Linked DNA regions of Homo sapiens: all the other regions are linked to region 4. Evidence: promoter capture Hi-C in 16 types of primary human blood cells and fetal thymus (Javierre and others, 2016). All regions are on one chromosome and are shown on one strand. Each heading gives the region's core, a stretch centred on a gene start or on the middle of the fragment in contact. The rest is flanking DNA. Distances are from core to core; before and after follow the strand shown. Region 1 overlaps ERCC6L2-AS1 (ERCC6L2 antisense RNA 1). Region 2 holds the start of HABP4 (hyaluronan binding protein 4). Region 3 has its middle 27 kb from the start of HSD17B3-AS1. Region 4 holds the start of AOPEP (aminopeptidase O (putative)). Region 5 holds the start of ZNF367 (zinc finger protein 367).

Region 1 (5,140 bases), core at 1,677-4,176, 1.1 Mb before region 4:
AATACAAAGCCAACAACATTTGCTGCAAATAAACGTAAAAATACTGTTAAAGTGTAAAGTGTTTTCCTCCGTACCATCTGACGTTTCTGGCGGTTCGTTGAACGCGAGAGAACGCTGAGCCGTCTGCACTGAGCCCGGGAGCATCTTCAGGGCAGCGCCGCCCACGCGCGAGGTGAATGAAGGACACGGCCTCTTGACACTCCCAGGCAGCACAGATAGACGGATCCGTAAGTGGCTCCCGCGCATGTTAAAATTTGTATACTGTAAGGTATTTCATGGATTGAGTGAAATACCTGACAGGGCCTGTATCCGTTCCCTATTGCCACAATAACCAAAAACCACAAACTTTGTAGCTTGAAACAGCACAAATTTATCATCTGACAGACAATGCATTTATTATCTCACGGTTCTGTAGATCAGAAGTGCTACCTGGGTGTCACCCGGGCTGCACTCCTTTCTGGTGACTCCACAGGACAATCCTTAGCTTGCCTTTGCCAGCTTCTGTCCACATTCCTTGGCTTTGGTCCCTTCCTCCATCTTCAAAGCCAGTGATATGCCATCTCTCTGAACCTTCCATCCTCAAGTCTACCGCTGATTGCAGCTGGAAAAGATTCTGAGGGCTCACCTGAGTAATCCAGGATCATCTTCCCATTTCCAGGTCTCTGCCCTTGATCACATCAGCAGAATCCTTTTGCCATGTAAGCTAATATATTCACGAATTCCGGAAATTAGGAGATAAACATCTTTGGGGGATCATTATTCTGCCTACAGTAGTGTCTTAAGAAAACAATATGGCTGTTTGCAAATAGATCTCAATTCTATGGCAGATACTAAAAACTAGTAGTATGTGTTCATAAAATGCTTCATTTAAAATATGACTTGTTTGCTTACCAGCAGGCAATAACTTTAAGCCTAAGTGAAACATCTAACTCAGCCATCTATGTGTGAGTTGTTGGCCAGATCACTTCTCCGTGTTTTATTGTACTCACCTATCACCATTACAGTGAAGCTAATAATAGTAAACTACCTAAAAATGGTAATTGTAAAAAATTAGATAATTAAGTAAAACTCCTAAAACAGTAGCTGGTCATAGTAAGGAATATATGTGTTGTTATTACTATTATTATCAATGGAATGCATCCACTTGAAAGTTGCATTCTACATAGCCATTATGTCAGTTTAATATTTTGGCTAATAGGCCGGGCGCGGTTGGCTCATGCCTGTAATCCCAGCACTCTGGGAGGCCAAGGTGAGCGGATCATGAGGTCAAGAGATCAAGACCATCCTGGCCAATATGGTGAAACCCCGTCTCTAATAAAAATACAAAAATTAGCTGGGCGTAGTGGCACATGCCTGTAGTCCCAGCTACTCAGGAGGCTGAGGCAGGAGAATCGCTTGAACCCGGGAGGTCTATAGAGGTTGCAGTGAGCCGAGTTTGCGCCACCGCACTCTAATCTGGCGACACAGCGAAAAACACTACTAATTATAATTGTAATTCTTGATTCTGACATGCACCCTGATATTGGAAATCTTAAAATCTAGAAAAATCTGCTGCTTGTTATTGATGGATTATATCTCTTTTCACATTGTCTCTAAAATCAAAATGGCAAATTGAAATTTTAATCAAGCTTCTTTTTTTCCCCTACAACTACCAGGGAAGAAGTTTGATTTTTTTCCCCTCTCTGAAATGACTAGTTGTGTAATTTTGTCTTATTTTTCCAGAGGTCCATTGAGTTAAGATGTAGCTCTTGACAGAGCAGACCTCTTAATAGAAGTGATAAGCAAATTCAGAAATAAATTTTGATTTAAATGGGAGGTATCATCTGGTTGAAGGAATACCCTTGTGACTAACAAAAGAGGAGGATACCTCATTTTCTTTTTTTTTTTTTTTTTTTTGAGACGGAGTCTCGCTCTGTCGCCCAGGCTGGAGTGCAGTGGCGGGATCTCGGCTCACTGCAAGCTCCGCCTCCCGGGTTCACGCCATTCTCCTGCCTCAGCCTCCCAAGTAGCTGGGACTACAGGCGCCCGCCACTACGCCCGGCTAATTTTTTGTATTTTTAGTAGAGACGGGGTTTCACCGTTTTAGCCGGGATGGTCTCGATCTCCTGACCTCGTGATCCGCCCGCCTCGGCCTCCCAAAGTGCTGGGATTACAGGCGTGAGCCACCGCGCCCGGCCCTCATTTTCTGAGTGTTTATTATTTAACCTCACTGCTGTACTTACAGTGTATACTGAAGCAGAAATAATCATGACATGAAAATATGTCCTAGTGAACTAGTTGCCTCATAAAGTTAGACATTCTCAAATATTCCTTCCCCCAGTAGCTTTTGTCTTTGCATTGACATCCTTGTCTAGGTGCTGATATTGTGAACATCTAACGCTGTCAGACCAGTCACTTCAAAGTTAAACTGAATATCTTGTAAAATATTAAGGAATTCCTGTAGTTAATATGTGTGATGTTGGATAAATCACATGAATGAACTGAATCACATACAAAACTTTTGGCAAAGGAGGATCTAGCAAAAATTAAGCCAATTAAAACTACAAAAGAGAAAAAAATAACACAGATGGTGATAACACAGGCATTTCAAAACAGGCTCATGGAAGGATGATTAAACCCACCAATAATTTGCCAAAAAATAGTCTCTCTTTATCTTCACACTGCAAAAGTCAAATATATATCTGTATGTGGTTGACAGATCTCCAGAATTGTGAGTTAATCTAGCAAAAAGGCTCCAGAAAAAAATAGATATGAAACTCTAAGACAACACAAGAAATTAAGTCTTTTGAGTTTTAGTTAGATGATTTTAGGTTGCAGCATTTCTCCCTTCATACGTCGTTCCAGCCAATAAGGAAGCAAAGATGAGTGAAGGCAAGAGAAAGAAGATAAAATAGACCTGTCCTTCCTTGCCACAAATAACCTAAATCTTAAAGTTTAAAACTCAACGTTGCACAACAGTGTGAACATACTTAACACTATTAAACCGTACACTTAAAAATGGTTAAGAAGGTACATTTTATATAATATGTTCTTTCTTATCACAGTTTAAAAAGCAAAACACAACAAAAAAGCTCCGGCCAAAGAAAGGAAAATTTGAGGCTTGAATGAGGTATAGTGAAAGATATATAGAGTCAGTGTTAGAAGTATATCATGGTCCCATATAATGAATATCATTACACCTTGAATATTCACCAACACCATTTTTACTTCATAGACTCAATAAATAGACTCAAATAATAGAACATTTAATACCTCATGTCAGATAAGTATAAAAATCCTGCAACAAAACACCAAGAAATACTGGTTGAAACATGTTTATAAAAACTCTCAAAATATAAAAGCGAATGCTTATACACTGTTGATGGGAATGTAAATTAGTACAACCTCTATGGAAAACAGTATGGAGATTTCTCAAAGAACTAAAAGTAGAATTACCATTTGATGCACGAATCCCACTACTGAGTACCCAAAGGAAAATAAATCATTATATTGAAAAGACACCCACACTTGTATGTTACCACAGTAAAGTTCACAATAACAACGTCATGGAATCGATCTAAGTGTCTATCAAGAGATGACTGGATAAAGAAAATGTGGTATATAAACACCATGGAATATATTGCAGCCATAAAAAAAAAAAGAATAAAATCAGGTCTTTTGCAGCAACATGGATGGAGCTGGAGGCCATTATCCTAAGTGAAATGACTCAGAAACAGAAAATCAAATACCACGTGTTTTCACTTAAAAGTGGGCGCTAACTAATAGATACATATGGACATGCAGAAGGAAATAATAGACACAGAGGACTCCAAAAGTGGGTAGGATGGGAGAGAGGTGAGGGTTGAAAAATTATCTGTTGGGAACAACTTTCACTCTGAGTGACAGGTACACTAGAAGTGCAAACCTCACCATTATGCAATATACCCATGTAACAAACCTGTACTGTACCCTCTGAATCTATAAAATTTTAAAAATAAAAAAATCTCAATGCATAGCTGAGCTTTCAAGAAGTACGTGAAATACTCATAGATCAAAAATAAGGAAGGAACTGAAAACTAGTTATTAAGATGGCACTTATACCACTCCTTTCCTGGACACATTTGTCTGGCTCAGTTACAAAAAGGTCTGAATTTTCACAGGCTTGTGGGAGCAGAAGACATGGTCTTAAGCTCCCACAAGTTCCCACATTGAAACTGAGCCTCCCATTTGAAATCAGAAAGCTTGAAAGGTAACATCCTTAGTGAAATGGTGAGCTAGAAGAAAAAAGTCTGGATAGCAGAAAAGAAGGAGGATGAAGAGGGATTTGTCTGCCTTGGCATGGGATTTTTGAAGGGGTATTCTTAATTCCCTCTGAAATTTTGAAACCACAGCTATGCCCTCAAATTTAGGATTTGAATGTATACAATCTGCGTTACCTAAGAAACTCCAAGCCAAGATAATAGCATAATGTAGTGCCTGGTTAACTGTATCTAGGTTGCTAGAAAGAAGCATGCACATCCTGGCCTGGCCCTTGTTCCTTGTTTTTGTCTCTTTTTCCGAATCATCCCTAAAGAAGTTGGAAGCAGCTTAGAAAGTAGGAGAGGAAGGTGAGGCATAAATCATATAAAAGAAGCAATCACCCCCACATTTTCCCCTGCCAACCACTTGCCTGTACCAAGTGTGAGCTCTGAAAGGGGAAGTCTTTAAGGTTAAACAAGTGTTGAAGTCTTAATTTTTTTTATTACATGGACTTTACCAAACTGACTTTTTGTTTGTCTCTTTTTAGTGGCTAGAAGTGACCCCAGGATTTTTTTATTATCAAGAGAGACTAGAAGAATCATGAGACTTTTCCTAGTTGCCTTTCAAGAATATGAAGAAAAAAATGGTTCTCAAAGTGGGTTTGAATGAGTATTGTTCCAATAAATGAACTTATATTCATATTTCATCCCCTGAGTCCTGGTGTTTCAACATCCATTAGAACTGAATAATCATACTGCATATCAAAGTTTGTGGGAAATTGCTAAAGTGTAAAAAATGCTCATATTGAAAAAGAAGAAAAGCTGAAAATTAATTGTGCTTCCAACTTTAAAAAAGGACAACAAGCTAATCCTAAAGAAACTAGAATAAAAGGAAAAAATAAACAGAAGTTAAAGAGTAATTT
Region 2 (5,427 bases), core at 115-2,614, 1.7 Mb before region 4:
GGCAGGAATGGTCAACCTACACATCTTAATCCTAACACTCTGCAAACCTTGGGACCGCTGCCTCATTTCAAGAAAACAGGAAACACAGGTGGAGTGTTGCTGGCTCTGCCACTGACGCAGTTCGGTGAGAGAATGAACTCTGAAGCACCCTCCCCGTCCACAGGCAGCAGGACACCACGCTGCGCACCGGTTTTTCTTGCTAAATAGGGAGTGGGGAACTCCGAATATTCTTGCTGGAAAGGTTAAAAACGCTTTTCTTAAAGCAGCCTTGAGCTATTTATAAGTTGCACATCCCATCAACACCACACGAAGTACTGAAATACGATGCCGGCTGCCTCCTGGAAGCTACCGGACGGAGAAGGGGCGAAGGCGCCAGGCCGGACCGCGCCGGGGACCCCCGCCCGGGCCCCGACGTCACAGGCCGCCCCGCGGTCGCCCAGGCCTCCGGCATCACAGAGGCCCCCAGCCCCGGGACCAGGCGCCCTCCTCCTCCCCACCGCGCTCTCGGGTGGCTCCGACCTCAATCTTGCAGAGGCTGGGCTGGAAGATGAAGGTCCCCGCCAGGTCTGGATGTGGGAGCCCCGGGGTAGCGACCTCAGCCGTTCGCCCCCACACGCCACCCAGACAACCTCCCTCAACTTCGTCCAACTTGCCGTAGAGCCTCAGTGCCAGGGTTCGAGGGCCCTATCCCACCCCAAGCCAGCGTTTCCCCCGGAGCCCCGCACGAGGCTGGCGAGAGCTGGAAGGGGTGTGACCCCTGCCCCTCTCCTCCTACCTTCGGCGGCCACCAGGACCCTCAACTCTCCCTACTGTTCCCGGGCCCCTCCTCCTGAAACCGGCCCCCGGGACCCCAGTCTCACAGCGGGCCGAGCCGTGGTCCGCTAACCCCGCTGTCCCCGCGTACCCGGCGCCTGCAGGCCGCCCCCGGGGCTATCGGGCCGCTGAGCGACGGGCGCCGGGAGGCTCTTGCGCTCCTTCTGCGACTCCCTCCGGCCGCCCGCGCCGGCTCTGTGGCCCGAGGCCCCGGCTGGGCTCCTGCCGCCGCGGGGACCGGCCCCGGCCGCCGCCGCCGCCTCGTCGCGCCTCTTGCGCTGCAGCTGCTGCTGGCGCCGGCGCTCGGCCTCGCGCAGGATGTCGAACGGGTCCGACTCGTCGTCCAGCAGCTGATGGAAGCGGTTGGCCACCACGCAGCCGAAACTCTCCTGCATCGCGGCGCCAGCGGCAGCCACGGGACTCCCCAGAGCGCCCTTCATGCCGCCGCGACCACTGCGGGCCCGGGAGGGCAGCCCACGCGAGCGCGTCTCAGCGAAGCCGGCGGCCAGGACCCATGCCGCCCGCTCCGCCGCCACCGCCCTCCGGGCCCTACCCTGTCCGGCCCCTACCGGCGCCCGCCCCCGCGGCGCCGCCGCCGTCCGCCCCGCTGCGCCAGACAGCCAGTCAGCGCGCGCGGGTGCGCCCCCTTTCCGACACGGCGCGCCTGGAGACCCAATCACCGACCGGCTGCTGTCACGTCACGCGACCTCTGGGCCCCGCCCCGTTCGCTCAGCAGGGAGGGGCGGGGCCCAGGGGCGGAGCTACTGGCTGGTCCAGGCGGCGCCGACGAAGCGGTGGGGTCTCGGCTGTGTGTGCTTTCTCCCGGGACTGCGACCGTATTTGCTATGGGCCACTCTGCTTTGAAGCTTATGTATACATTTAGCCGTGCAACAGCTACATATTGCGCACTTACCGTGTGCCAGGCATTATGTTGTAGGAAATACTAGCTCCGTGTTGTCACAGATCTGAGTCTGTAGATGGAGAAAAAGTGCCCTGAAGGACAGGCGCAGAGCTCTCTACGGGCTGCAGCAAAGGGATCTGACCTAATTGGGAAATGACAGTTAAGCCGAGGGAGAGGGGTGACAAGGGGTTGGAGGAGGAACAGCAAGTGCAGCAGTCTTGAGGTGGGATGTGCACAGCCTATTCAAGCTCAAAGTGGTCTCTATTCTAAGAGCAGTGGGAAGCAAGTTTTGAGCATGAGCAGATTTGGGTTTGAAAAGGCCACCCTACCTGCACTGTGAACTAATAGTTTGGAGGGAAATACAAATGGATGCTGGGAAGCCAAACATGATTGTTGCAAAGCTCCAGGGAAGAGTTGATAGTGACTGGGATTAGGATGGTGGCGGTGGAGGCGAAGAGAGTAGATGGATTCAAAGACTTGGTGATGCGCTAGAGGTGGTGATGAGGGAGAAGAAGATACGGTGACTCTTATTTTCCTGGCTCCAGCATCTGAATGATAGTATTAGTTACCACTGGAAGACACTACTTTAACGGGAATCATTAATTCAGTCTGGGACACGTTGAGGTTTGGATATTTGTTTTCTTTTGAGATATTCAGTTGAGGCCTGGAGCTTAGAGAACGCCGGACTGGACTTCCTCCAGGAAATCTTTGCATAGGCAGCGGTGGAGACACGCTTGGCTGCCTATCCTACAGCCGTTCTTTCCCTCTTACATTTTTCCAGAGCCTGTATTTTGTTCAGGCATCATATTCCCCAGGGGAAGAGGGCCCCTTCCAGCCTCAAACTTGATTAATCATACATTATTCATTGCACCTGATTCCAATTCCTTGCCAGTAATTGGCTTAGGAATAGGCTGTGGGGCAAATCGGGCAGAACAGATCTGAGAAGTATTCTGGGAAAGTTTTTCTTGCACCTAACAAGGGATTGAGAAGGGATCTCCCCCCCTTCTGTTCCCTGGTCTTTGTTCCATGAGAAGACATGATGCCTCGGGTGGCTGTTCCTTAGCGTGGCCATGAGGATGGCAGAGCAGGATAGAGAAAGGCTAGATCCTTGATGAGGTTGAGCTGCCGACTGGACCCACTTGGGAACCTCCCTACTTGAGGCTTATGATGTAAGGTGACAGATGTGATTGCGCTTAGTTGTGTTTGCTTGTTTCATCCGAAAGCATCCAGTTAGAGCATCTTGCCAGGTGCTCTGTGACCAGCTTTTACTTTCCTTAATAGCAAAGGAATTCCTAATCCTAAATGCTGTAAAGTCTGTGTGTTACTCACTTATTGAATTTTGTGTTATTCCCAAGGAGGACAGGGATGATGCCTGTCTTATTCACTGCAGTATGTATTCCCAGTGCTTGGCGTTCTAAGCAGCTATAGAGTAGGTTTTCAGTAAATATTTGTTGAATGATTGAAGAATTTAAGATATTTGGTCATCTCCTTTTGAGTGAGCAAAGATTAATGCCTACGCTTTCTACCCAAAAGAATTAAAAGCAAGTGTTCAAACCAAAACTTGTACATGAGTATTCATAGCAGCACTATTCACAATAGCCAAAAGACAGAAACAAATAATATACATGTCACCCGATGAATGGATAAATAAAATGTGGTACAAAAAATATTATTTGGTCAAAAAGGAAGTATTGATACTTGTTACAACAGGGATGAAACTTGAAAACATTGTGCTAAGTGAAAGACGGACAAAAAGGGCCACACGTTGTATGATTCCATTTATATGAAATGTCCAGAATCTATAGAGACAGAAAGCAGATTGGTGGTCACCAGGTGTGGGGGTTGGGAGTGTTGGAAAGTAACTGCTTAATGGGCATGGGAGTTTCCTGTGGGGTGATGAAATGTTCTGGAACGAGATAGTGGAGATGGTTGCACAAAATTGTAAATTTAGTAAATGTCACTGAGTTGTACACTTTAAAATTGTAAAAATAGTAAATTTTGTGTAAAATTTAGTAAAAATAGTAAATTTTTTGTAAAAATAGTAAATTTATCTTAATGAACCAGAGTAAAAATAGTAAATTTATCTCAATGAACCAGAATCACTACATGCAACAGAGACCACACTTTGAGAAGCACTGCTTCAAGCTAAAGTTATCTTTGGTATCTTTAAACTGCTCATCACCAAACCACAACACCAAGGAATCATGATCATGTGAGAGAAGGGCCTGTCGTCTTCCCACTGGGCATCTGGAGTTAGCCTGCTCCCCTGTTTTCTTCTTATCTTCCTTACAGCATAACCAGCCACTGTAAGTTCTTAAAGCATGCCCTGTGAGCACTGCCGCCTCATTTCCAAGTCACAAATGCCCCAAATGGTTGTAAGAGAACCAACTCTCGTTGCTTCAGGATTCAGAACATCTTTAGAACTGAAATAGAGATGAGTAATCCTTACCTGGTATTAGATGGCCACAAGTTTCTTTTTTTTCTTTTTTTTCTTTGTGTGTGTGTGTGTGTGTGTGTGTGTGTGTGTGTGTGTGTGTGTGTTTGGCAGAGACAGGGTTTCACCACGTTGGTCAGGCTGCTCTCAAACTCAAGTGATCTGTCCACCTCAGCCTCCCAGAGTGCTGGGATTACAGGTGTGAGCCACCGTGCCCGGCCATGGCCATGAGTTTCTTACGGGGCTATTGACTACTGCACAATTTACTGAGAGTAAGGTTAAGCACCCTCATATTTTTTACTGATTGTTTTTTCTTCTAGGAGATTGCATCCTTAAATGCATTCCTAAAATACAACTCTACCACATTAGCATAAGTTATTCACACATTGTGTTTAATGTGGTCAGTTTAATAGACTGATCTTTTTCATAATCTGATATATGAAAACAGCTTTTAGTAATCATAATACCAAACAATAACACACATCTTATAGCATGGAAAAACAAAGCACATCAAAAATGCTGTGAAGTGTGGATGCTGAATAATACTACCAGCCCTTCCATGATTATTATATATATTCCAGTGGTTATTTATTACCACCAATGGAAATGCAGTGAAACTTAACTGTATACAAGATGTAAATTACCTTGAATTACTTAATAGAGGAGTCCCATTAGGAATAATAAAATACACTAACATCTTCCAGATTGACTTGGAATTCACAGAACCATTAATTGAGAGTTTAGACACATGTAGCTTCATTACTTTCAATTACATGCAGGGAGCAACACCTGGGTGAGAGCCAAGGAGGAGAGGCCAGGTCAGGCTGGCGAGGATGTGAGTTCTTGTTAATTACCAAAGCACTGCATTCAATCTGCTCTGTTTTGCCGCTGAATTCCTGCTCTCTCTCTCCTTACCTTTTTCTTGTCCCTAAAGTTAGGATGATTATAACCTGTCTTGCATTCTTCATATAGTTGAATGGAAGACAAGACCAAAGAAGTCAATTGAAAAAGGTAAAAATAAATCTCACTATTTTATAATTGTTTCTACTTGCATAATATATGCAAAAACAAAAGTATTTTTCCTAACTCTAAGAGGATCTGATCTTTTATGCCAGTTGAGTCAATTATGACAGGATCAATGAAGTTACATAATAGTTCCTGGTTTCACTATTCTAAGGGTGATAAGTGAGTTCAAATTCAGTTTCCCACAACAAATGAATAAAGCAAGTAGCAAGTACATAGGCTCAAAGTCAGGAGTTGTAGAACCATAAACCATTAG
Region 3 (5,290 bases), core at 2,118-4,617, 1.5 Mb before region 4:
TGCAGGCTCTACTCCTGACCACCTGTAGCCTCTTTCTCCAAGGGGTGCTAAGCCCAGAGACCTGATGTTTGTTGTTTTTTGGGTAAAAATGGTTTTATTGAGGTGACACTGACATATTACATACAATAAATACATATTAAAATTGCCTAACTTGATATGTTTTGAAACTATCACAATCAATCACAATGACTACAATATTGATCACCCCTCACCCTCCCCAACATCCTTGTGCCTTTCGAAATATGTCCTTCCTGCCCCATCCCAAACTCTGGTGATGACTGATTTGCTCTGACACTATAGATTCATTTGCATTTCCTAGAAGCTTATAGGATGGAATCACACAGTAGGCATTCTTCTTAGTCTGGCTTCTTGCACTGAACGTAATTGTTTTGAGAATCACCCATGTTGTTGGCCGGGCACGGTGATTCACGCCTGTAATCCCAGCACTTTGGGAGGCTGAGGCGGGTGGATCACCTGAGGTCAGGAGTTCTAGACCAGCCTGGCCAACATGGTGAAACCCTGTCTCTACTAAAAATACAAAAATTAGCCGGGCATGGTGGCGGGCACCTGTAATCCCAGGTACTCGGGGTGACCAAGGCAGGAGAATCGCTTGAATCTGGGAGGCGGAGTTTGCAGTGAGCCGAGATCGCTCCATTGCACTCCAGCCTGGGGGACAAGAGCGAGACTTCGTCTCAAAAAAAAAAGAAAAAAAAAAGAGTCACCCATGTTGTTGTGTGCACAACATTCCTTTCTTTTTCTTTTTCTTTGTGTGTGTGTGTGTGTGTGTGTGTGTGTGTGTGTGTGTGTTAGGGGGGCGGTTTGGAGTCTTGCTCTGTGGCCCAGCCTGGAGTGCAGTGGCGCAGTCTCAGCTAACTGCAACCTCTGCCTCCCAGGTTCCAGCAATTCTCCTGCCTCAGCCCCTCCTAGAAGCTGGGATTACAGGCATGGGCTACCACACCCAGCTGATTTTTGTATTTTTGTATTTTTAGTAGAGACGGGGTTTCACCATGTTGGCCAGGCTGGTCTCAAACTCCTGGCCTCAGGTGATCCGCCTGCCTCAGCCTCTCAAAGTGCTGGGATTACAGGCGTGAGCCACTGCGCCCAGCCCTTTTTTTTTTTCTCCTGAGACAGGGTCTCACTCTTGTTGCCCAGGCTGGGTGAGCTGAGATTGCATCACTCCAGCCTCGACCTCCTGGGCTCAAGTGATCCTCCTGCCTCAGCCTCCCGAGTAGCTGGGATTACAGGCCTGCGTCACCACACCTGGCTTTTCTTTTTTTTTTTTTTGTAGAGATGGGATTTCTTCATGCTGCTCAGGCTGGTCTCCAGCTCCTGGGCTCAGATGATCTGCCCACCTCGGCCTCCCAAAGTGCTGAAATTACAGGCGTGTAATCTCATCATGCCCGGCCAGTGCATTCCTTTTTACTCCTGAGTAATATTTCTTGGAGTGTCTGTACTACAAATTATTTATTCATTCAGCTGTTGGTGGACATTTGGGTCGCTTCCACTCGGGTGCTATTACAAACAAAGCAATTATGAGCAGTCAGGTTCAAATCTTTGTATAGACAGATGTTTTTGTTTTTCTTGAGTAAATACCTAGGAGTAGAATGGCTGGGTCAGATGACAGGTGTATGTTTAAAATTTTATGAAACTCCAAACTATTTTCCAAAGGAAGGGGGTCATACCATTTTATATTTCTACCAACAATGAATGAGGAACTCAGCCCTCCTAGGGCCCAGTCTGGCGACTGTGACCGTATTCCAGAGGCTTTATAATCCTGTTTTTTTCCTGTGAGCAAAAAAGTTATAAAGGAATGAGATCTAGAAAAGATAGTTCTAGTTGAACCAAAATCTTTTATCCAGGGTGAGGGCATACAAACTGCAAGGGGCCTGGGTGGGGGAGGCAGAGAAGCGCCCGCCTCTTCCGACCTCTCAGGTGCGTGTGAGCCGATGCTCCGCTAGGGGGCGCGGGAGAGCAGGCCGCCCCCCGCGTGACTCTCAGAGCCCGAGGGCTCCCTCCAGGTCCGCTGCCTTCTGCCCACAGGAAGGAGTCACTTTCCCAACTGGCGGGGAGCGGGGGAGTCACTTTCCCAACTGGCGCGGGCGGGTTGGGAGGGGCCGCTGAGCCGCATCTGCCACAGTCACGAAGCTTTCTTAGCACCTCCTGGAGTTCAAGGAAAATCCAGAAGCAGCTCTTTCCTTGAAGGAAGACGTTCACAGCATCGCACCCACGAAGAGGGTGCGGCTTCCCCCTCTCACCCTTCTGGGTCTCGGCCGATCGCCTGGCAGTTGGGCTCGTGGCCCATCCTGCAGGAGGGCGCAGGCATGCATAGCGCCTGCGGAGGAGCGCTGCTCCTACGCCCCAGGCACGGCCCCCGCAGGCCGGGCAGTGACCCCGGTGGCCCGGCCCTTAGGGCGTGCGAGTTGACCGTGCCCCTTCTCCAGGACGCGCGGCCGGCGGCTGGGTTTTCGAACGCGCGGCTGTGAACGGCTCCTTGGCGAGGAGGCACAGCCTCCGCAGGCCGGAAGCCACGCGCCCACCAAAGGCACGAGGAGCAGGGCGGAGAGTACTGCGGGTCAGACGAGCGAGGCCCTCGGGGAGGCGCCCAGAGGAGCGGGGCAGCGCGGCCGCAGCGCGGGTCGGGTCCGCGGACGCTGTTCAGGCCCCACTGTGGGGCTGCTGCCCCTGGGCTGCCCTCCGGCTCGGTGGAGCGCGGGAGTGGGGGTGGGGGCGCCTCTGCTGCTTCCACCCCAGAAACCCGGGTCAGCGTTGGGAGCTGCACTGGGCGGCAGCGGAGAACATTAGAAGGGACAGTGTTTGGGTTAAAATCTAACCCTCGGTCGGGCGTGGTGGCTGAAGCCTATCCAACCACTTTGGGAGGCCGAAGCGGGAGGATCACGAGGTCAAGAAATCGAGACCAGCCCGGCCAACATGGTGAAACCTCATCTCTATTAAAAATACAAAAATTAGCCAGGCGTGGTGGTGAGCGCCTGTAGTCCCAGCTACTCGGGAGGCTGAGGCAGGAGACCCGCTTGAACCCAGGAGGTGGAGGTTGCAGTGAGCCAAGATCGAGCCACTGCACTCCAGCCTGGCGACAGAGCGAGACTCTGTCAAAAAAAAAAAAAAAAATCTATCCCTCATGATCTTGCTTTCTGTGCGTGTGTCTTTGCGTCAGGGGCAGGGAAAGCCTGTAGAGCACACATTGCCTAGTGAGGTCTTTACAACACAGGCTTTAATTATTTTCCTCCTTTCGCAGCTGAGAACAGAGAATTTAAGCAACTTGCCCAGAGTTCCAGAGCCAGACCTTAAAGGTAGGGCTTGTGACTCCGCATTAGGAACGTTCTCCTCCCCTGGATGGACCCGATGCCCCCGCACTAATAATCTTGAGCCGGAATTCAGCAACGCAGTGGTGACATTCAACCTTCCGCCTCACGGAGGCGGTGCCGGCGGGGCAGGGGATGGCCGCCAGGGGGCAGTGTGGCTCCGTGCCTCCGCGCCCGCTCCCGGACCCGCGCCCTGCCCCCACCGGCGCTGAGCCCGCCGGCGCTGAGCCCTCCAGCCCTGCTCCGCGTTCTTAGCAGCGTCGCCAGGCGTGGAAGAGGTTGGACTCAGGGCTACGTCTTCCAGTAGTTAAAAAACGGGGGGCCGAGGCCCCCACAGTTAAAGTGGGCGAGAGAGCAGCTTCCAGCATCTATGGCGATGATGGCCTTTTTTTGCCCAGATGCAACCAGGTCTGCCAGTCGGCCAGCTCGCACGGAGGGGCCCACCTCCAGCCCTGGCCTCAAGAGGGACCAGGCACAAACCTTACCTTGACAATGTTTCCAGCAACACTTCGCTGGGACAACTAGTCAGTGTGGTCAACCAGGCTAGGACAACTAGTCAGTGTGGTCACCCTTGTGGCCGTTCTTACGGGGAATTTGGTTATTATGGGGAACTTGGTGAGACTTGGGTGTAAGCCAGTAGTTGCATTAGTTGTTTTTGTAGCTTATCTTGTTTTAGTAGCAGTGATAGTGAGATTTTGCTTGTTTTTTTTTTTTTTTTTTTTTTTTCTTCTGGACTGATCCAAACGGAATGCTGAAGTTCTGTCTCCATCCGGAAGACCTGGGCTGTGGCCTCCCGGCGTCTCTGGGCAGGGGCATCTGCAGGTCCCCACTCTGGTGGGCACCCTGCTGCGAGTCTGCTCATACCCAGGGTGGATGCACCAGCTGCAGCTTTCAGCTGAAAAGAAACACGCTCTGCTCTGGCTTATGTCTGGCTGAGCTCTGGAAGGGCGGGCCCCTCTCAGCGAGCTGGGGGGCCCGCGTAGACGAAGATGACCCGCAGGCCTTATCAGCACTTATCTTTCAGTAAAGCCTGAGAGGCCAGCTTTGTGTCTGGGACCCTGGGAGCTCAGGAGGGCAGCTCGGCTTTTGTTCCTTGTTCTTCTCCAGCTGTTGGGAACTTTGCTGACAGCAAGAATCTACTCCATGGATTCACAGCACAGGCTATGACCAGAGACATATTTTTGTCCTAAAACATTTTTTTTTCTGATTATAAAGTTAATGGCCATTTTTCTTTTCTAACTTTTTATTTTGAAATAATTTGAAGCTTCTAAAAGCAGTTTAAAAATTATGCAAAGAGTTCACATGCACCCTTCACCCACATTGATGCCCTATAAATGCCTTGGTTTATATTTCCCCTCAAAATAACCACAGGCTTGTGACTGAATCAGGAAATTAACATTGATATAGTTGTGTTATCCTCCACAGACCCTCATCATATTTCCCCGAGGCCCATGAATGGGCCTTTGCTGAATCACACCTTGGGTTAGTTATTGCGTCTCTTTAGTCTCCTCTAATCTGGAACACTTTCTCAGATTTTCTTCATTTTTTCATGACTTGGACAATTTTTGAGCATATGGACCAGTTATCTTGTAGGAAGTCCCTGAACTTGGGCTTGTCTGACGTTCCCTCAGGATCAGACTGTTCGGAATCCCAGGGGCGGTGCTGGGTTCTTCCTGGTGCACCCCCCACCCCTGCCTCTGCCAGGGAGCAGCCGTTCCTGGAGATGTCACCTTTATCACTTGGTTAGGTGATGTCTGCTGTGTTCTCCACTGTAAAGTGATTATACCTTGTGGGGGGATACTTGCAGACTTTGTGATTATCTTATTTCTGAAACATTTTAGAGAATTTGAAAAGTATAGTCAAGAAGGGCAAAGAATCCCTCCTGGCTCCCCGCCTGCAGATAAGCACTGTCTCCATGCTGACTCCGTGCTCTTCTTCTTTTCCCTGGAGTCTCTGCTCTCTTTGGGATC
Region 4 (5,579 bases), core at 196-2,695:
TGTTAAATCATTTGTGTAGGTGAACAAACTCATAAAATTGTGTGCAACTATTGTAAAAAGCCTAAAATTTGAGCATTAGTAGAGTCCTTTAAGAAAAGTGCAGGCTTTGAAGTTATATTCAGACCTGAATTTAAATCTTGATTTTGCCATTTAGTTAACTGTGAATTTTTAGCAAGTCAATTTCATATAACCGAAACTCAATTTCCTTCTCTATAAATTGGGGGTAATAATTCCTAACTCACGAGGTGGTTGTATGAAGTAAGGAGAAAACATATGCAAAGTGTTGAACACAGTACCTGGGATAAAGCAGATGGGCCAACAGTAAGCAACTATTATTATACCCTAACCTTATTCTACTTTGTCCCCCAAATATTGGAAGAATCTAATCTTCCCAATTAGCAAGTCATTGGAAGGCTTCCCAGACTTATACGAAGCACAATATACACTATTCAAAAATGGAACAGACTAAAAGTATTTTAAAAATACAAAACCAAACAATCAATGAGATCAAGGATTTCAGAATTCTGCTTCTCGTCCCATATACTCAGCATCTATTCTGTCTGGTTTTGTAATAACCCATATTATTTCTTTATCAACCATATGAACCTTATTGTTGTTTTTTTGCGATCTAAACATCCCTAGCGGGTTATGTTACTTATTTTGAGGGCTACCTTTGCAAGGGTAATTGTCATCATTGCACGAAAACCAAAAAGAAATCAGGTACAAGGGGCATTTTATGCAATGCTATTAACTGTTCCATGCATCTCAACAGTGGATTGGATCCTAAGTGGATATTTTATTATCACAATAGATAATCATAATCACATTACTGTGCCACCCCCTCCCCGCCCATGCATGCGTTCATGAACAAAACTCCAGACTAACAGTATGAATGTTCTATAGGGACCCCAAAACTCAAAATGTGGTGCTCTCAGTAAAGATCCTCCGGGGGAAGAAGAGGCGGATGGGTTTCACTGCAAGTGGAAATGAATCGAATCGAAACTGTTCTGCCTACTTAAGACTGGAGATGAGCCCTGTGGGGCTAGAAGCCGAGACCGGCAGGTGACCGAGGGCCTGGAGGCAAGAGACGAAGGAGGAGGCACCCAGAGGCTGAGAAAGGTCTGTGCCGCCGGGGAGAAGACAGCCAGAGCCCGTGGCCACCTCTACAGCTGAGGTGGTAAGATGTGACCGCTCCGCCCAGTCCCCAGGATGGGTTTCAGCCCCAGGAGTCTGGGAGAACTGAGGAGGGGATGCGGGTCCTCGCTGGTCGAGCAAAAGTGAGGGTAAGGGAGGGTTCCCCGTCGCCTTCAGAACGGAATGATGCTGTCCCCGCCGCCATCCCGACGCCGGAGGAGAGGAAGGCAGGGACCCAACAGGGAGCGAACAGGTTACCTGTCTCAGCCGCGTCCCACGGGTCACCACTTCCGCAGACTCGGGGTTACTACGGGCTACCCCGGCACGCGCCGGGTGACGTCATCCACACGCGCCCGGGGCCGCATTCTGCCTGACCCGCCTTCCGCTAGGCCCGCCCCCTTAGGATGAGAGGGCGAGACCGCCCGGGGGAGATCTGCGCAGGCGCGGAGCTGCCGCGGTCATAGGAGGGCGCGAGCAGCTTGGCTGGCTAGGGCTTGTAGAGTTGCCCTGGTACCCTAGTATTCCTAATTGCAAAATCTTTATGAAGCTTAAGAAAAAAATCACCAGCCTGGGCAACCTGGGGAGGCCCCGTCTCTACAAAAAAATTAAAAAATTAGCCGAGTGTGGTGGCGTGCACCTGTGGTCCAGCTACTATGGAGGCTGAGGCAGGAGGATTGCTTAGGTCCAGGAGTTCGAGGCTGCAATGAGCTATGAACGTGCCACTACACTCCACCCTGAGCCACAGAGCAAGACCCTGTTTCAAATAAAATTTAAAAAAAGTTACTGAAATACAGATGTGCAATTTTATTCCTTAGCCTAGTCTCACCTCTGCTGCATGTGACTATTGTTCACATATTAATTCCACCACAATTTAAGGTCCTCCTGTGTGCCAGGCAAGCACCCTTAACAAAAGCTGGGGAAACAACCAGGAACAAGACAGACGCTGTGCCTTCCCTCATGGGGATTACTTTCTAGTTGAGAAAGCAAACATTAAATGTAGAAGGAAAGGCCGGGCGCGGTGGCTCACGCTTGTAATCCCAGCACTTTGGGAGGCCGAGGCAGGCGGATCACAAAGTCAGGAGATCGAGACCATCCTGGCTAACACGGTGAAACCCCGTCTCTACTAAAAATACAAAAAATTAGCCGGGCGAGGTGGTGGGCGCCTGTAGTCCCAGCTACTCGGGAGGCTGAGGCAGGAGAATGGCGGGAACCCCGGGGGGCGGAGCCTGCAGTGAGCCGAGATCGCGCCACTGCACTCCAACCTGGGCGACAGCGAGACTCCATCTCAAAAAAAAAAAAAAAAGTAGAAGGAAAATAAGTTGCTGAGAAATTAAAGGAAGACAGGTGACCTTTTGATTTGAGATGTCAAGAAAGTGCCCTCTGAAGAGGTTCAGTAAACTGAGAAGCAGCCAACTCTGTGGAGAGCTAAGGAAAGAACAGCCAAGAGAAGAATCTACATGTGAGCAAGCAATAGGGAAGGGGCAGAATGTGGTGCCTTGGAGAAAGTGAGAAAGTAGGTCATGGGAAGAACAGAGGATGAGATCAAGAAGGCAAGGAGAGTCCCCATCATGCACAGACTCTCTGGGTTCCTGTGAGGAATACGAGTTTATTCGAAGTGTAAGGGGAAACTAGTGAAGAGTTATCAACACGTAAGTGACAGGATCTAGTTTTATAACATCACCCTGCTAGCTGCTGTGTATACATGAAACTTTTGAGAAACAATTTAAAAGGATGCAAAGAGAAGAGTTGCTTTTGCAATGAGCAGGTAAGAAATGATAGAAATGGACAAATTTCAGGAATAATTCTGAGGTAGATGTGACAGACTTGGAGATGAGTTTAGATAAGGGAGATAAGGAAAAGAAAAGTGTCAAAAATAATTCTTAAATTTGGGGCCTAAGCAAATAGCTGGATCATATAGCTAAAACAAGGTTTGTTTCACCTCCTTTCAAACTTGATTTCTTTGCTTGTTTCCAAGTCAGTCCTCTAGGTTCTCCTGTCACCTATCTTTCCTCAGTTTCTATCACTGGCTTCCACTTTCCCTTTTCCTGAGCTCTTTTTTCCCTTGGCTTTCTTAGGCTCCATCAGAGGCTGCAAACCCCAAAGCCTACAGCAGCCGGGCAGTTAACACAAAGGAGTGAAGCCCAGGGATAGAGACTGTGGTGATCTGGAGCTCGTGGTCCCTACCACAGCTCTGTTGATTTTTGCCAACCAGGAATGCTGACCCGGTGATGTCAGATCCCCTGCTTAAAAGATAATCGAGGGCCGGGTATGGTGACTCACGCCTGTAATCCTAGAACTTTGGGAGACTGAGGCGGGCAGATCACAAGGTCAGGAGTTCAAGACCAGCCTGACCAATAAGGTGAAACCCTGTCTCTACTAAAAATACAAAAATTAGCCGGGCGTGGTGGTGGGTGCCTGTAATCCCAGCTACCCAGGAGGCTGAGGCAAGAGAATCGCTTGAACCCAGGAGGCAGAGGTTGCAGTGAGTCAACATCACGCCACTGTGCTCCAGCCTGGGTGACAAAGTGAGACTCCATCTCAAAAAAAAAAAAAGAAAAAGAAAAAAAAACACCAATCGATATACAGATATTTACATGAAATCTCACAAATTTTAAACATTGCTCACTAATTCACATTTTATTAAACTTCTGTTTTGGACCAAACAAAACACATCTGCTGTCCATATGAGGCCTGCAGGCCTGCACAAACTTTGCCTCCTTGATGTGTATTTTCCCAGGGTGGTGACTTTGTCTCTTGTCAGGTGACTACCACCTGTAAGTTTGTAAGCTGACAATTCCCAAGTCTATCTTTCCATTCAGACCTGTTTAAAAATTTCTTATTCAGGCCGGGTGCGGTGGCTCATGCCTGTAATCCCAATGCTTTGGGAGGCCAAGGCGGGAGGATCACCTGAGGTCAGGAGTTCGAGACCATCCTGGCCAACATGGTGAAACCCCGTCTCTACTAAAAATACAAAAATTAGCTGGGCGTGGTGGCATGCACCTGTAATCCCAGCTACTTGGGAGGCTGAGGCAGGAGAATGGTTTGAACCTGGGAGACGGAGGTTGCAGTAAGCTGAGATCATGCCATTGCATTCCAGCCTGGGCTACAGGGCGAGACTCTGTCTCAAAAAAAAAAAAAAAAAAAAAAAAAAAACTTATTCAAATATCCAGATTCCACTTAAACATCGGGCTAGCATTTAAAAACCTGAACTCGTCCTCTGTCCCCACCTCCAAACCTGACCTACTCATGTATTTTTGTCTGAGTTAATAGCATCAATATCCACCCAGTCACCCAAGCCTGAAATCCAAGATCATCCTAGACTTGTCCCTCTTTGTCATCCCACAGTCCAATCAGTATTTATCACACCTGCTCATCACCTCCATCCTTAATAACTCTTGCACTGGCTCAAGACTTCATCTTTCTTGGGAAACCTCAGTTTTCTCACTTATAAAATGAGAAGATGGAACTAGAAGATTCCTAAGATGTATTTATTTCCATCTTTATAGCCACCAAACATGTCAGAATAGTTGCCTGGAATTTGGGGTTTTATCTCATTGGGTTTTTTGTTGTTGTTATTTTGCCTGGCTATTGTTATGCCAAGGATATTGTGACCAGGTTGACAGGGAAAACTGGACTTGATAGAAATAAATACAAAATGAAATTAACAGTGGCCAAAACTGAACACAATTTAGTTATAAAATTAAAACTGACTGAAAAATAACTGCTGATTGGTAACATTGAAAACAGGAAAAATTGGCCGGGCGCGGTGGCTCACGCCTGTAATCCCAGCACTTTGGGAGGCCGAGGCGGGCGGATTACGAGATCAGGAGATCAAGACCATCCTGGCTAACACGGTGAAACCTCATCTCTCCTAAAAATACAAAAAAAAATTAGCCAGGCGTGGTGGCAGGCACCTGTAGTCCCAGCTGCTCAGGAGGCTGAGACAGGAGAATGGCGTGAACCCGGGAGGCGGAGCTTGCAGTGAGCCGAGATCGCGCGACTGCATTCCAGCTGGGCGACAGAGCAAGGCTCCATTTCAAAAAAAAAAAGAAAAGAAAACTGGAAAAATTGAGAAAAACAGACATGGTAAAATGTGTCACTTATTTTAAATTGATGAAAAAATCAATAAAATCTTTTTGACAAGATTTAGATCTACAAAGTTTCAGCGGAAAAACAACTGGTCTTGGTTAATTAACCACAAAAGAAAACTCATAATGTCAGAAACTCTAATGACTATAATTTGTCATGAAGTCAAAAAATAATGCTAAATTGTAACTTCAATGGGAAGCTTACATGTAAAAGAACTGGAAATGATTCCAGTGAAAATAATTCTAGTGAAGTAGAAAAATGAGAAACAGTTATATAAATGTTATATAACAGTTTGTATGTAATATAAAATTTAAAACATAAAATATTAAAATGAATTTTTTATAAATTTACAAAAT
Region 5 (4,855 bases), core at 524-3,023, 1.7 Mb before region 4:
TTATGTAATCTTGTACAAGCCTCAACTTTTCTCATTTATAAAATGGGAAAAATATCTTCCTTACCCAATTGTTGAGTGAACTGTGAAACATCCATATGTATTATTGTGTATCAGTACATATATGCTATTTTTGTAGTAGGCCTCCAGAAAATGGAGGCTATATACTGTTTCATTTCTTAAAAGGATACTTTCACTTGGTTCAAAGTTCAAAAGATAGTTATATATTGTATTTCTTGAAATCTTTTCACTTCTGTTCCCAGCCACACAATTTCCCTCCATGATCCATGTTTCTTTTGCATCTTGCCAGATATTTTATGTACGTCTAAAAGTAAAAACGTATTTTCCCCACTTTAACAATTTTACATAAAATCACACTATTGCTTGTTTTGCCTTTTAAAATAAAAATACATTTTTGAAATTGTTCATATCAGTACAGTTTCCTTTATTTGTTTTTAAACAATTGTGGCTTAATTTAGTCATAGCTGTGCATTTGTGTGTCTTTCACAGAGAGAAAAGCTATTCAGCTTAGTTATCTGTTATTATACAGTCGTGTTCTAACTTAATTACCAATCCTAACCCTTAACCAATGGATATTCATTCATCCATTCAGCAAATATTTATTGAGCCCCTACCGCGAATCAGGCGGTGCCTGGGAATCTGTATTCCCAAGAACAAAACGCAGCTCCCCAGGCCACATCTAGCGGGTAGGAAGCCGGGCAACCCCTCCGCCCGGTCCTTCCTCTGCAGCCTGCGAGCCCCACCCGGGCCGCGGTCGGCGCCAGCCAGGCGGGGCTGGGGCGGGGCGGGCAGAGGACGTTGGGGCTCCGCGCGTCCCGGCGCGAGTACTAGGACGCGGCCGGGGCAGGTGGGGGCCGAGCAAAGTAGGGCGCTGCCCCGACTCCCGGAGCAGCCGCTCGGTAGAGCGGGGTCGCCGGGGTGGGGAGATCCCCGAGGCAACTTCGGGGCATCAGTCCAGGGTGAGAGTGTCTACTCTCGCCCGGCTCTTGTGGCCTCCGCGCCGCGAGCGGCCCGCAGGGACTTCGGAGGCCACTTCCTGGACTCTCCCCTTTCCACAGATGGGGAACCGGAGGCCCACAATCGGCCCGGAGGAGTCAGGGCGGTGCTGACAGGGCTGGTTCACAGAGCGTGCAACAGCTGAGCAGACGGAACTCGATTAAGAAACCAGGCACGCCGGGTGCCCATCAGGACCTCGGGCAGCAGAGACTCCAGCCGCCGGGCGGGTGGTGGGACCGAGGGCGGGGCGGGCGGCGGGGCCCCAGCCCTTTAAACTCCCTGCGCGCGGGAACCGCGGCCCAACAACCAACGGCGGGCGGGGCCGAGCGGGGCGCGCGCCTCCACCGCCCAACGATCACCACCCCCCCCGACCCCGCCCCGCCGCTGTCCAATCAGCCGCCCTCTTGCCGCCCTCCCCGCCGCCCTTGTCTCCCTGGCCCGGACTAACCACGCGGAGGGACGGCGGGGCGGGGCGGCAGGCGGGTGTGTCCGGGCGAGTGGAGACGCCGCGCGCTCCACTGGAGTTTCGAACGCTGTTGGCCCTCCAGACAGAAAAAAATATAAGAGCGGCGGCCAATGGCGAGGTGGGAAGGACCCGCGCGCAGACCCGGCCCCGCCCCGGCCGGCTGGAAAGAAGGCCAGGCCTGGCCATTGGCTCGCGCCGCCTGTCACTCGCCGGTGCGGCCAGCGGGCAGCGGCCTCGCGGTGACTGGTTCCGCCCAGGCGCGAAATGTAACGCGGGAAAAGCCGGGGCAGGCACCGCGGCGGCAGGTTGTTATTTTTGGGGGCTCAGCGCCGCGCGTCCTGCTTTCCTGTCACCGCAAGGGCCGGGCCGCCCGCTGCTTCCCACCCCTGCAGCCTGCGCTGCGGAGTACAAAGAGCGGAGGGCGCGCTTGACCTGGGGCTGGGGTCCAGCCCTGCCCGCCGGTGCCGTCTGCTCAACTAGTTAGGTGGCTGCTGCGCAGGATTCCGGGAAACGTCAGTCTGCCATGAGCCGGCAGGACTGAGCCTGCGACTCGGAGCAGAGCGAGTGAGGGGCAGAGCGGTGCTCAGGAGTGCGGCCCGGGGCCGCCGGAGCTGGGGGTCGGGCCGGGCGATGATCCGGGGCTTCGAGGCGCCCATGGCGGAGAACCCGCCGCCGCCGCCGCCGCCCGTCATCTTCTGCCACGACTCCCCGAAGCGGGTGCTGGTGTCGGTCATCAGGACGACCCCGATCAAGCCAACGTGCGGCGGTGGAGGGGAGCCGGAGCCGCCGCCGCCGCTCATCCCCACCAGCCCCGGCTTCAGCGACTTCATGGTGTACCCGTGGCGCTGGGGCGAGAACGCACACAACGTGACGCTCAGCCCTGGGGCCGCGGGGGCCGCCGCCTCGGCCGCCCTGCCTGCAGCCGCAGCCGCCGAGCACTCGGGGCTTCGTGGCCGGGGCGCGCCCCCGCCCGCCGCCTCGGCCTCCGCCGCCGCCTCGGGAGGTGAGGACGAGGAGGAAGCGAGCAGCCCAGACAGCGGCCACCTCAAGGTGAGCGGCGCGGGCGGGCGGGCGGGCGGGACGTGGGGCAGCCGGGGCCCGTTAACGGTGCGGCGGGCGGGGCGGAGTTGAAAACGCGAGGTCGATCCGGCTACGGCGGGGGCTGCGGCTGACAGGATGCTGACGTCACTGCCGCGCGCCAAAAACCGGCCCCAGTCGGGGGGGGCCTGTCACGTGACAGGCGGGAGCGGCGCGGGAGACCGTCCTTGCGGCAGGTGCAGTGGGCGGGAGCGCGGCCCGGGGTCGCTGGGGAGGCCGGGTCAACGGCCACTGACATCCTCCCGGCGGGCTGCCGAGTCCTCAGTTCCGAGAGGAAACGAGAGGGATGAGGGCCTTGAGTTGTTCCACCGACTGCGAGAGGGCAGGGAGCGCACAGTGTTTGCTCCATTACTGCAGATCGCCCTCGCCCTGTTAAAAGATGCCCTGCAGAGACAGCCGAAGAGCAAGAAAGGACTTCTGGGCCTGTTCTGCGGCTGAAGTTGTGCCTTCGCTGCCTTTCATTTATCCAGCATACTACTTGCTAGGTGTTGAGAGCACATAGTGGAATGGGACGCTAAAATTGCTTGCAGTCTCCGACTGCTTAAAGCTGGGAAGGTCGTTACCACTGGTTCAAACCTATTTTACAGATCAGGCAGCTGGGGCTTACAGTGATTAGTGAGGCGACCTTCCCACGATGGCACAGCTCAGTAGTGGAAGAGCGGGGACTAGGTCGAGGTTTTGTGGCTTTTAGTCCTGCATGTGTTTGGGGTGACTTTCTGCTGACTTATACTGAACTCTGTAGACTGTAAGCTCCAGGTGAGCCAGGAGTATTTCTATCTAGAAGACTATATGACTTTACTACCTTACATTCTGTAAATGCTCAATAAAGGTGCTCAAAAAATATTTGTGTAATGAATGAATGGTGCTAACAGAAGGGTAATATCCAGGTTCCATTTGTTAAGTGGCTGTATAAGATAAGCAATTTGCAAGAGATAACAAGTAAATCACATAGTGGATAACTGCATCTGTATCAGCACATAATGTATAAGTTGAAACGAGTTTGATCATTTTACATGCAGTCACAAGGATGTTGAAACTACATTGTTTGGGTTTTGAGGAAATTGATATATTTTATGTGGCATTATTATTAAATAATTATAAGGTTATAAAACTATAGGTTTTTATACACTTCAGCTCTTGAAACTGCACCTCAGTAAACATTTGAAAGAACAGAACCTGGGCCGGGTGCGGTGGCTCACGCCTGTAATCCCAGAACTTTGCGAGGCAGAGGCGGGCGGATCACGAGGTCAGGAGATCAAGACCATCCTGGCTAACACGGTGAAACCCCGTCTTTACTCAAAATACAAAAAATTAGCCGGGCTTGGTGGTGGGCGCCTGTAGTCCCAGCTACTCGGGAGGCTGAGGTAGGAGAATGGCGTGAAGCGGGAGGCGGAGCTTGCAGGGAACTGAAATCAGGCCACTGCGCTCCAGCCTGTGCAAAAGAGCGAGAATCCGTCTCAAAAAAAAAAAAAAAAAACAACAAAAAAAAAAACCATAACAGAGCCTGGTGAGGTGGCTCATGCCTGTGATCCCTTCAGGAGGCTGAGGCTGGGGAATCACTTGAGACCAGGAGTTCAAGACCAGCCTGGGCAACATAGACCGCATCTGGCGGCCTGCACCTATATACGTAGCTACATGGGAGGCTGAGGCAGGAGGATCACTTGAGACCAGGAGTTTGAGGCTACAGTGAGACATGATAGCACCACTGCACTTCAGTCTGGGTGACAAAGCAAGACCTCAACTCTTTAACAAAAATTGAAGAAACTTGCCAGGTGCGGTGGCTCACGCCTGTAATCCCAGCACTTTGGGAGGCTGAGGCGGGTGGATCACCTGAGGTCCAGGAGTTCGAGACCAGCCTGACCAACATGGTGAAACCCTGTCTCTACTAAAAATATAAAAATTCGCCGGACGTGGTGGCGGGCGCCCGTAATCCCAGCTACTTGGGAGGCTAAGGCAGGAGAATTGGTAGAACTCGGGAGGCGGCGGTTGCAGTGAGCCGAGATTGCGCCATTGCACTCCAGCCTGGGGGACAGAGTGAGACTCCGTCTCAAAAAAAAAAAAAAAAAAAAAAAAAAAAAAAAAAAATGAAGAAACTAACGATAGAAGCGTTGATAGTATTGCTGAGTATTACTAAAGGCTACAGTTGCTGTTGGGCTGCCTCTAGGTATCCCCTAGTGAGATGTAAGATGGATCGGTATCCACCGGGTGGGTGGCTCACGCCTGTAATCCAAGCACTTTGGGACACCGAGGCAGGCGGATCACAAGGTCAGGAGATAG

The links. Contacts are between HindIII fragments. The CHiCAGO score rates a contact against its expected background, and 5 or more counts as called.
Region 1: a fragment that was not itself captured here is called in contact with the fragment with the promoter of AOPEP in region 4 in 2 of 17 cell types (total B cells and naive B cells); the score reaches 5.4 in total B cells.
Region 2: a contact is called between the fragment with the promoter of HABP4 here and the fragment with the promoter of AOPEP in region 4, in 1 of 17 cell types (naive CD4 T cells). The highest score is 7.1, in naive CD4 T cells.
Region 3: a contact is called between a fragment that was not itself captured here and the fragment with the promoter of AOPEP in region 4, in 4 of 17 cell types (naive CD4 T cells, naive CD8 T cells, fetal thymus and 1 more). The highest score is 7.9, in naive CD4 T cells.
Region 5: a contact is called between the fragment with the promoter of ZNF367 here and the fragment with the promoter of AOPEP in region 4, in 2 of 17 cell types (monocytes and activated CD4 T cells). The highest score is 6.5, in monocytes.

The regions. Positions count from the first base shown.
Region 1 is chr9:95,870,067-95,875,206 of GRCh38, reverse strand. The region is part of intron 1 of ERCC6L2-AS1 (ERCC6L2 antisense RNA 1); the gene reads left to right. Among named protein-coding and RNA genes, the nearest start is that of ERCC6L2, 3.1 kb to the left of the region's middle. RefSeq lists an enhancer at 216-345. The HindIII fragment of the contact is 2,592 bases long and covers 1,631-4,222 here.
Region 2 is chr9:96,446,106-96,451,532 of GRCh38, reverse strand. HABP4 (hyaluronan binding protein 4) reads right to left here and starts at 1,364. Exons shown (of 8, transcript NM_014282.4): 1 at 905-1,364. The coding sequence starts at 1,253. RefSeq lists silencers at 847-896, 977-1,036, 1,047-1,586 and an enhancer at 1,867-1,946. The HindIII fragment of the contact is 2,057 bases long and covers 1-1,681 here.
Region 3 is chr9:96,216,512-96,221,801 of GRCh38, reverse strand. No RefSeq gene overlaps it. Among named protein-coding and RNA genes, the nearest start is that of HSD17B3-AS1, 27 kb to the left of the region's middle. RefSeq lists a silencer at 3,354-3,563 and an enhancer at 3,574-3,793. The HindIII fragment of the contact is 2,439 bases long and covers 2,148-4,586 here.
Region 4 is chr9:94,722,565-94,728,143 of GRCh38, reverse strand. AOPEP (aminopeptidase O (putative)) reads right to left here and starts at 1,445. Exons shown (of 17, transcript NM_001193329.3): 1 at 1,393-1,445. RefSeq lists enhancers at 1,174-1,653, 1,176-1,718, 1,664-1,833. The HindIII fragment of the contact is 1,744 bases long and covers 1-1,683 here.
Region 5 is chr9:96,415,288-96,420,142 of GRCh38, reverse strand. ZNF367 (zinc finger protein 367) reads left to right here and starts at 1,773. Exons shown (of 5, transcript NM_153695.4): 1 at 1,773-2,530. The coding sequence starts at 2,111. RefSeq lists silencers at 627-896, 1,157-1,816, 1,927-2,066, 2,367-2,606 and enhancers at 425-958, 959-1,492, 2,967-3,206. The HindIII fragment of the contact is 11,520 bases long and covers 1-4,855 here.